Linked DNA regions of Homo sapiens: region 2 is linked to region 1. The links are contacts of gene promoters, found by promoter capture Hi-C in blood cells and fetal thymus (Javierre and others, 2016). All regions are on one chromosome and are shown on one strand. Each heading gives the region's core, a stretch centred on a gene start or on the middle of the fragment in contact. The rest is flanking DNA. Distances are from core to core; before and after follow the strand shown. Region 1 holds the start of RDH14 (retinol dehydrogenase 14). Region 2 holds the start of MRPS9 (mitochondrial ribosomal protein S9).

The links. The method cuts DNA at HindIII sites, captures the fragments that hold promoters and counts their contacts. A CHiCAGO score of 5 or more calls a contact.
Region 2: the fragment with the promoter of MRPS9 here is called in contact with the fragment with the promoter of RDH14 in region 1 in 1 of 17 cell types (total CD4 T cells); the score reaches 5.4 in total CD4 T cells.

The regions. Positions count from the first base shown.
Region 1 is chr2:18,557,867-18,562,604 of GRCh38, reverse strand. RDH14 (retinol dehydrogenase 14) reads left to right here and starts at 1,952. Exons shown (of 2, transcript NM_020905.4): 1 at 1,952-2,425. The coding sequence starts at 2,033. The region is part of intron 10 of NT5C1B-RDH14 (NT5C1B-RDH14 readthrough); the gene reads left to right. It overlaps LOC105373456 (a long non-coding RNA gene), which reads right to left and starts at 2,429. Exons shown (of 6, transcript XR_007086234.1): 1 at 1,914-2,429. RefSeq lists enhancers at 1,543-1,762, 1,773-1,822, 1,883-1,932, 2,743-2,792 and a silencer at 2,023-2,532. The HindIII fragment of the contact is 4,929 bases long and covers 1,173-4,738 here.
Region 2 is chr2:105,036,185-105,040,849 of GRCh38, reverse strand. It overlaps MRPS9 (mitochondrial ribosomal protein S9), which reads right to left and starts at 2,781. Exons shown (of 11, transcript NM_182640.3): 1 at 2,623-2,781. The coding sequence starts at 2,757. MRPS9-AS2 (MRPS9 antisense RNA 2) reads left to right here and starts at 2,354. Exons shown (of 3, transcript NR_110603.1): 1 at 2,354-2,396. RefSeq lists enhancers at 1,799-2,741, 2,495-2,824, 2,995-3,044, 3,095-3,144, 3,165-3,374. The HindIII fragment of the contact is 6,591 bases long and covers 692-4,665 here.

The DNA.
Region 1 (4,738 bases), core at 703-3,202:
TCCCTCCTCTTTTCCTCCTACCCTCTCCTGCTCTCTCTACCTCCACCTTCATCTCTACTCCACCTGTACATATGTATTCCACCCCTGGCTCTAGATGAGAGAAGACCACAGCTGAAACACATCTTCTGATGCTCCCTAATTTTATGTAAACCAGTCCAAAATATATCAGTTGTGACATGTGACACTGAGTACCTACCATTTTGTAGGTGTCCTCCCATGCAAAGACCACAAGAGGTACGCAGACACAATCCTATCCTCTAGGAAACTTGAAACCTTAACAATCTGGTCAAGGAAGTCAAATGTGCAAACTCAAACAGCCAATACTAGAAGGCTGTTTGTCTTCAGTGCCAGTGAGGGTCACACATGACCCTGAGGGTCACACATGAAGGGAGCAGAGATCTTTATAGGCTGGAAGTGGTCAGGAAAGAAAGACTTGAGGTAGCCTGTGATTTTGATGGATGGGCAAGATGTGGATGGGTAGAAAGGACAATAAAGTGGAAACATATGCTGGGGGATCAATGAGTTTGAGTAGCAGCTTCAAATTGGGGATAGGGTGGTGTAGGACCACCTCTCATGATTCCTGTTCCTGGTGCCTTGTATAATCCCCAGTAAGAGTGCTCTTTCCCACCTCTGAGCTCCATTCTCATTACTCATAAGAAACCTCCTGGAATCCATCCCTTTTTCTTTGTATTCTGACTATTAGTTGCATGTTACATCCTTCCCAAATGTAAGGGAGTGGAAGATGGATTATCACAATTATTGGGGAGTTTGTCTCAAACGACACAAGCTGTGGTTCTTTTTCCTTGTCTGGAGAACCTGCAATGGGTGGAGGGTGGGAAGTGGGAGATCACAGTTCCAGAAAGTAAGCACCCTGAGAGCAGAAATGGTGTCCCATTTCTCTGTGGCTCTAACAGGGAACAGGCAGGGCCAGGCACATATTGGATGGAGAGGCAGACGAACGAATGAGTCTTTAAAAGTAGCTTGGTCTACAGCTATGAAGTTTGTAGCTTGAAGAAGGGTCCCTGTGACACTAACCCTGATATTAATGAGGCATTTTACAGTGAGCCAAGCACTTTGCCTTCCATCGTTGTGTGTAATAGTCCTATGGAGAGGGCAGGGAGGCATTTGTAAATGGCCTGCTCAGAAGCCTATATTTACAATAAGTCCAAGCTTTTCCCACTGTACCTCTGCCAGTGTGAAGATCATTTGAAGATGGCTTTCTTTTTTTTAATAGGGACCAATGACATAATGTCTTGTTCAGTGGTTCTCAAAGTGTGGTTCCCAGATCTGCAGCAGCAGCAGCACCTGGAAACTTGTTAAAAGTGCAAATTATCAGGCCCCATCCTGTACCTATTGAATTAGAAACTCTAATACTGGGGCCCTGGTTTTTTGTTTTCGTTTTGTTTCATTCCCCCACCCCGAACCCCCACCCCAAGTCCTCCAGGTGATTCTGATGTGCATTTAAGTTTGAGAACTACTCGACCATTCTATTTCCAACTGATTCATGTTGCTTAATTCTTTGTCTCATCTATGAAAAACAGTCCTACCTCAGACTTCAGCTTGTCAGGGCCCATTCCTCAGAAGGTGAATTGAACTGAATTTACAAGTCCCAAGAGCCCTCAAAGGAAAACACACGAAATGCCCTGAGGAGTGGCATTTGTAACAGGGCCTGTACAGAGATCTGTGATTCAAAGTACTCATCAGACATTCCCATGGGGAAGTCCGCCACTACTCTGGGATTTCAATACGTATGAACCCCAGCACCCTGAACACTGTGCTGGTTGCCCAGCCTCCATCATTAGGCTGGGAGGAGCTTCCACGGAGGGCGCAGGACCCAGGGCGCTGAACTCTCACAACCAATCAGGCGACCCCCCCAGAGGGAAACTACAAGTCCCAGCATGCCCCACGCGCACCGTCAGGGGCCGACCCGCCGCGCCCCAGCGTTCTCCGCGTACAGGTGGTCTCTTGGGTTCCGGTAAGGCGGCGGCTGCGGAACTCCCGTGGAGGGGCCGGTGGGCCCTCGGGCCTGACGATGGCAGTGGCCACTGCGGCGGCAGTACTGGCCGCTCTGGGCGGGGCGCTGTGGCTGGCGGCCCGCCGGTTCGTGGGGCCCAGGGTCCAGCGGCTGCGCAGAGGCGGGGACCCCGGCCTCATGCACGGGAAGACTGTGCTGATCACCGGGGCGAACAGCGGCCTGGGCCGCGCCACGGCCGCCGAGCTACTGCGCCTGGGAGCGCGGGTGATCATGGGCTGCCGGGACCGCGCGCGCGCCGAGGAGGCGGCGGGTCAGCTCCGCCGCGAGCTCCGCCAGGCCGCGGAGTGCGGCCCAGAGCCTGGCGTCAGCGGGGTGGGCGAGCTCATAGTCCGGGAGCTGGACCTCGCCTCGCTGCGCTCGGTGCGCGCCTTCTGCCAGGAAATGCTCCAGGTGTGGGCCTCGGGGGGCCGGGCTGGTGGGGAGGGCCTGGGCACGGTGTGGGAGGGGACTGCGGGCTGGGGCTGAGCCGCGAGGGACCGCCCTGGGGTTCAGGGTGTCACCTTGGGAACCGCTGAGGCTGAGAGGAGTCCAAAAAGCCACTTTGAGGCGGCCGGGAAGCTGCAGGGTTGAGAGGGAAAGAGAAACTAACTGGGAGGGCTGCCTTCTGTCCTCTAAGGATGTCGAAAAAGAAATGGGCCCAAGAGAAAAATAAATAAACCAGTTTCTGAACGTTTCATTTCGTTACGTGAGGACCGCCCCGAAGTAGATCCATGGCCTCTGAATTGTTTTTCCTGTGTCAGAAGTGAATTTGCACCAAGCTGTGTCTTCAGAACCCCTGAGCACTGGGGGAAGTTGCTAGCTAAGGACCTCATATCAGTCCTTTAAAAAAAGTTCTCCTTCCCCCGGCCTCTGCCCCTTTTCTGCTGGGGTAAGGAGCTCGCTGCCACCAGTAAACTCAGCACCATCCTTAACGGGACTGTGGCCTGATTTCCAAGTAGAATACATTTTGGAACCCAGTGGTCATGCTCCATACAGAGACAGGAATAAAAATAACACCCAGCATTATTGAAGATCTGTATGCCAGGAGCTGTGCCAAGCATTTCAGATTTTCCTTTTTGTCTTAAATGAAAATGAAGTGTCCTTGCCTATAACTGTCATTGAAGCTACACAGTAACCCTGTGGAGTAGGCATTATTATCATCCCTGTTTTACAACGCGAGGAAACTGAGGCATAGGAAGGCTAAGAAACTTGCTTGTGGTCTGTCTCCAGAACACTTGCTTTTAACCCTTGTTCTTTCCTCCTGCTGCCTGGCAGTGAGGTGTGAGGATTTCTTTGTGCAAATGGTAAGTAATTCCACATAAGTGGATGTTCTCCGTTGAGATTGAGGTAGAAGAGTTTCTTGCAGGGATAACTGGCATTCAGAGGGCATTTGTTCAGAAGAGTGAAATTTAAAATTAGCTGGGACAAGAAAGGTGCCTATATGACGTAGAGTCTCTTGAGTCTAGAGAAGAGGTTCCCAAATTTTCTCAGTAATTTTTTCATGATGCCCTTAGGCCAGAAATATTTCCCAGTTCATTTATTTAGAAAGTTTATTTTGCCAAGGTTAAGGATGCACCCGTGGCAGAACCTCAGGCGGTCCTGAGGACATGTGCCCAAGGTGGTCGGGGCACAGCTTGGTTTTATACATTTTAGGGAGACATGAGACATCAATCACATATGTAAGGTATACATTGGTTCTCCTGGAAAAGTGGGACAACTCGAAGTGGGGGCTTCCAGGTCATAGGTAGATGGGAGACAAAAGGTTGCATTCTTTTGGGTCTTTGATTAGCCTTTTACTGAATACAATTTACATGTGCAGGAGGGATAGAGGAATAATCACTTATGTCTTAGACTGGCTCAGTGAGTCTGCATTTTCACATAAACAATACGGCAGAGTCAGCAATCAGATAAGCATTTATCTCAGGTGAGCAGAAGGATGACTTTAGAGTTCTGTCTTTTGTTTGGCACTTGTGAAGATGAGCTATCAATTTATGAATACATTGCCAGGGTGAAATTCAACAGAAGTGTTTTAGGGTAAAGATCTTGAGGCCCATGTGGGCAAATTATGAGGGTGATATGTAGCTTCTTTTTCTTTGTAGCTATCTTATTTAGGAATAAAATGGGAGGCAGGTTTGTCTGAGGCAGTTCCCAGCTTGACTTTAACCTTTGACTTAGTGATTTTGGGTTCTGAGATTTATTTTCCTTTGACACAACCTAATAAGTAGTTATGTCCTAACAACTTAGTAGCTATTTGAGAAGATAACATAATTGAAAGAAAAAAATAATATGTTTATTTTGTTCTTAAACAGCCATAACTACTAATGGGAAATGTATCTCTGTTGGTCATTACACCAGTGTCTGAAACCTTGGAATCAGATTGGACACTTCCACCCTCATTTCCTGTTCTAGGTAGATTTTTAGCATTGTTCTTGTTTTTTATTACAGCAACTGCTAACAGCTGCTTAAAAGTCAGCTCCACAAAGAAATAATGTCATTGAAAGGAATATAGCACAATGTAATGTTCAAGCTGTGAACCACCTGGAGCTAGTAGTTTTGAGGTATTGAGCAAATATCACTGTGTTTCCCTCGAAAATTTAAAATATTCCACAACACCCTGAGAGTTTGCTGCAATGCTGTAGGCCACAGTTCGGGAGCTGTTGCAGAACTAGAGAGTTGGTTTTTTGTTTATTGCTAGTATTTAATTATGTGTAACACAGGTTAAGA
Region 2 (4,665 bases), core at 1,532-4,031, about 86 Mb before region 1:
TCCTCTACCTGGTCAACAACTCTAGTCTGACTCAGGCATATTACTTCTGTGCTCTTCTGTATTTACCTCTGTAAATATCACAGTACACCATAGATCCCTGATATTCATGGATATACAATCTGAAAAGTTTGGCCATTCATAAGACTGCCTCTTCTGCCCCAAATTTGGGACACTCAGACATTTGCAATTGTATTGAGGCATTAATACAAAACATGCATACCACAAGATTGCTATGCAAGAGGTAGTCTGCTAGTGAAGGTCTCAACTGAGAACCTAGGAATAGCTTAACAAAACTCGCTTCTTTTTCCTTATTGTAACAGTGTTTCTCAAACTTGTTAAACTGTGACCCATTGTAATATTTACTGTTTATATCACCACCTAGTATACATTTACATATATAAACAAAATGCAAAAATACTCTGCATGAAATGCACTTTATTATTATTCTATTCTCCCACACCCTTCAAGTTTTCTGTAACCTCTGAAGAGATTTTGTAATTAAGGAAATTAAAAGTGGAACAAACAAAAGACCAGGTATAGTGTTTTGTCACTCATTAAGTGATTAAAATTTTTATTATTTTATAAAACATGGGCTACCAAGAGAAATCTATCTATTAATGTTGGAGGCAGAAGTGAAAAAATGTTAATGTTTAAGACAGATAAGCTCTGCACCACGATAAAAAAAAAAGCTTTATCAATGTCTTTAGGTATATGTATGCAATCATAAGAATCTAAAGGGGGGTCAGCTAAGTGTTTCAGTTATATCTGAGCTGTACTTAATGTGGTAAAATATATGCTGTAGTAGTATTCAGGAATCTGGGGATTCAGCCATTTCAGGACCATCCCTTAAGAGTGCTAAGGGTGGATACTATCTTGTAATTGTTTGACTTTAAATTGTTTACTTCACAGTGCCTGGCTCAGGTAAAGTGCTCAGTAAACATTTGCCATATGGGGGAAAGAGGTTGTTTCAAGAATGGTCAAGGAGATGAAAATTAAAGTAACAGGAGAAATCATTCTTCATCCATTTTACTAAACCAGTACTTAAGAACTAGACCAGATGTTTACTGAAACTTTATTAGTGCAAAGAAAGTAGAAACAAAGCAAATGTCCATCAATTGTTACATTAACTTTGATATATTCTTATCATGGAATAGTATGCAGCAGTTAAAAATGCTTTTAAAAACATAATAGGGGACCCTGAAGGATTTCTACTTTACAATATACTGCATATGTACAAGAGAAAAGCAGAAAGTAAAATGCAATCAAATATGGTACCATTTTTTGTAAAGTACACCTGTGCATGTATGTTTATGCATGATTATAAGAACATGGAAAAAACATAGAAGAATAGATACCAGGAGGGACAGAAAGTTAGCCATCCCCCAATACATACATTAAATGTCAACAATAAAAATACTCTGTATGATATAGTCCCTCTCATAATCATGCGTATGTAGCAAAGATATACTCAAAGAGATGCATGAAAAAATAAAAATTTCTAGCACATTTTCCAGTAAGAAAAAAAAAAAAAACAAATGTCCACATGAATAGATAGAATGGACTGGTTGATCTAGATTAAAATATAAAGGAAAGAACATACAAAAAGATGTTTTTTTTTTTAAATATAGTTTTTAAAGTATGGTATTTGACTTTCCTGCAATAATTGGTACTTGTTATCACTCTCCCTCCTTGAAACATTCACCTGTTTTCCATGACACCACACTGGCTGGTTTCTCTCCTGCTTCTTTGGTCCCTCATTCTCAATCTCTTGAGGCCTCTTATTTCTTATTTGTCCTTCAGGGCCCTGTCCCTCTGCCTACTCCTCAGTACACTCTCCCTAGGTAATTTAATTTGTTTACAAGGCCTCAGTTACCATTTACAAGGTAACAGGGCATTTCGAAATCAGTTCTCCTCCTGAGCTATACACTTGACTATCCGTAGACCTACTGGAAATCCCAGATGCCTAAAAACATAATCCCATACTAAACTCGTTTCTTCCCTCTCAAATCTTTTTCCTGCTCTGAGATCGCATGTCAGTAAACTGGCATCATCAGCCATCCAGCTGTTGACTCCCCACTTCTCCCTGGATTAAACGAAACGTACAAGTTCTGGCCTGCATCTTTCCATAGAGGGGGATTCGGGAAAATTAAGAAGCCAGAAATTGCGCATATTGAAGGCACTTTCAAAAAGTCACTGTCCTCTACACAACGTGACTTTCTCCATTGTCTTCCAGGCACCTGCAGGAATCCAATTCCCATCATTCTTCTCTGGCGCGGCCCTCCTCCTCCCTAGACAGCAGGGCAGGGTAGGACTGGACCCAACACAGACCTAGGCACCGACCCTTACTTAGCTCAGCAGCCAAATGAAGGAGGAGGTCGCTCCACTTCTACCTTCAGGTAAGTTCCCCTCGCTGCACCCCGCAAAAAAACAAGTAACAACCTCTAGAGCGGCTACTGCACGCCAATACCCACCTCCTCCCCCCCAACCTCAGACCTCCACTAAATACCTAAGATCCTAGAGTCCCTGCCTGAAGGCACGCGAGACGCTGGGGGAAGGTGTCCGCGCTGGCTCCACATCCTCGCGCGGCAGAGGTAAGCCGCTTCCAGTCTTCCCAGGCCTTACCTGGGATCTGACATTTGTTTGCAACTCAGGGGCCGCGGTTTTCCAGAGGCCTTGCTTCCGGGCGAGGCTACCCCTACCCCAGAGAAGAAGCCGGTACGAAACTGCTCCGCCGTAGGACACACAGGGCGCCGCCATGTTAGCTGTGGGAGCTCCAGGACCGGAGGGGTGAGGGGGCGGGGCCTAGAGACGGCGCAGGCGCTAATGGCGCGGGGTTCCAGAGGCTGTCCTGTGCAAGAGCTTCTCGGGCCTTTGGATCAGGGGGCGTGTCCCGCGATCCGCGACAGCTCGTCGCTGATTGGGTGCATGGTGTCCGCGGGGCGTATCCGACTCCACCCCTGCTCGGTGTCGACCTCAAGAAGGATCGCTGGTGGGTCGTTTTTCTCGGCCTCTTTCTCTTCACGTCCTGAACTCAGTCTCTTCGGGACTCACTTCCACGCTCTCCTAGTCTCTTTGGCACTCACATCCACGTGGCGCTTTAGCCAGCCCTTCCTTCCCAGCCCCCTTGCTGCACCTCGAGCCGGCTCTTCCTCCACCTGGGCAGGGCGGCCGGGGCCCCAGATGCGCTCCAAGCCTTGATTCCTGTCTGCCTTATCCTAGTAGGGGTTTTCCCCTCCTCTAACTTTCCACGTTCGTCTGGTTCCAAGTCAAGACTCTCCTGCAGCAACTGTCAAGCCCCTCTCGGTTCCCTGGCACTCTCCTGCGTTGTTTCTTAACTGTATAATGCACAGGATAAACCTTAAACCGGTAAGGTCAAACACTACCTTTCTCGTTTTTGCACGCCCCTCCCTAAGCGTTGGTACTAAGCCTTACTTGAAACCCAATCAGAACTGATTAATTGTTGAATAGAGATGAGTATGTCTTGCTTTCTGAAACTTGCGTGCTCCTGGCAGTTAACTCCCAGGTTGCTTTCTACGAAACACATACTAAATGATGTAGTAACGCACTTTAAAAGGGTTTACACACACTTAGATTTGAAGGGTCAGTAAAAGTAAAACACACAGAAAATCTGAGATCATACAAAGTTGTCAAGCAAATAAATGCCGTCTACTATCACCATCATTTCACGAAACAGAACTTTTTAGCATTAAAAAGGTAGAATGGCAGAATTTCACAATAAAGAAAAATCTTTTAAATGGAATACATTTACTTGTATAAAATGCTCATCCTGTTGTTCTTTTTGTTATTAGCTTTTAGACTAGCAAAAGATATCTTGAGAAATTGGCAGAGGTCGGAGGACTAAACTCTGATTTTTTTATCTTGCCCAAGATTCCTATCTACAGGATTTGGGGAGTCATGCCCTACAAATCATAAATTCTTATTAGATGGGTTTTACTTAACCCTATATATGGTGACTTACTTTCCAACCTGACTCTGGCATAACATTACAAGACAAGGAAGAAAATCAAAATATTTTACCCCAAAACATGTTTCTTTGCCATATCTTGAAATGGCCCTGCAAAGCTGTCCTTGGAGGGGTGGGATATGCATCTGTAAAGAATCTGTATTAACATAGCTAGATCTTTTTCTTCCAGACCCTCCCAATCCTAAAGAGATTAACTAAGATCTGAATAGGAAACATTTGTCATCCATTGTCTCTAAGGGCAGCCACTGTAAGACTTACAGAGAACTTTGGTCTCCACAATCTTTATCTTAAACTGAACATTCCCTTTCTATCAGTCCCAGGTCTTTCTGGACCAAACCAATGTATTTCTTAAATGTGTTTGATTGATGTCTCATGCCTCCCTAAAATGTATAAAATCAAGTTGCGCCCTGACCACCTTGGGCACAAATTCTCAGGACCTGCTGAGGACTGTGTCATGGGCCATGATCACTCATATTTGTCTCAGAATAAATCTCTTCAAAATATTTTACAGAGTTCGACTCTTTTTGTCAACGGATGGATAAACTAGCATTTGGGAATCAAGACTTTATTTATTTATTTATTTTATTTATTTTGAGATGGAAGTTCGCTCTTGTCGTCCAGGCTGCAGTGCAGTGATGTGATCTCGGCTCACTGCACCTTCTGCCTCCCGGGTTCAAGCG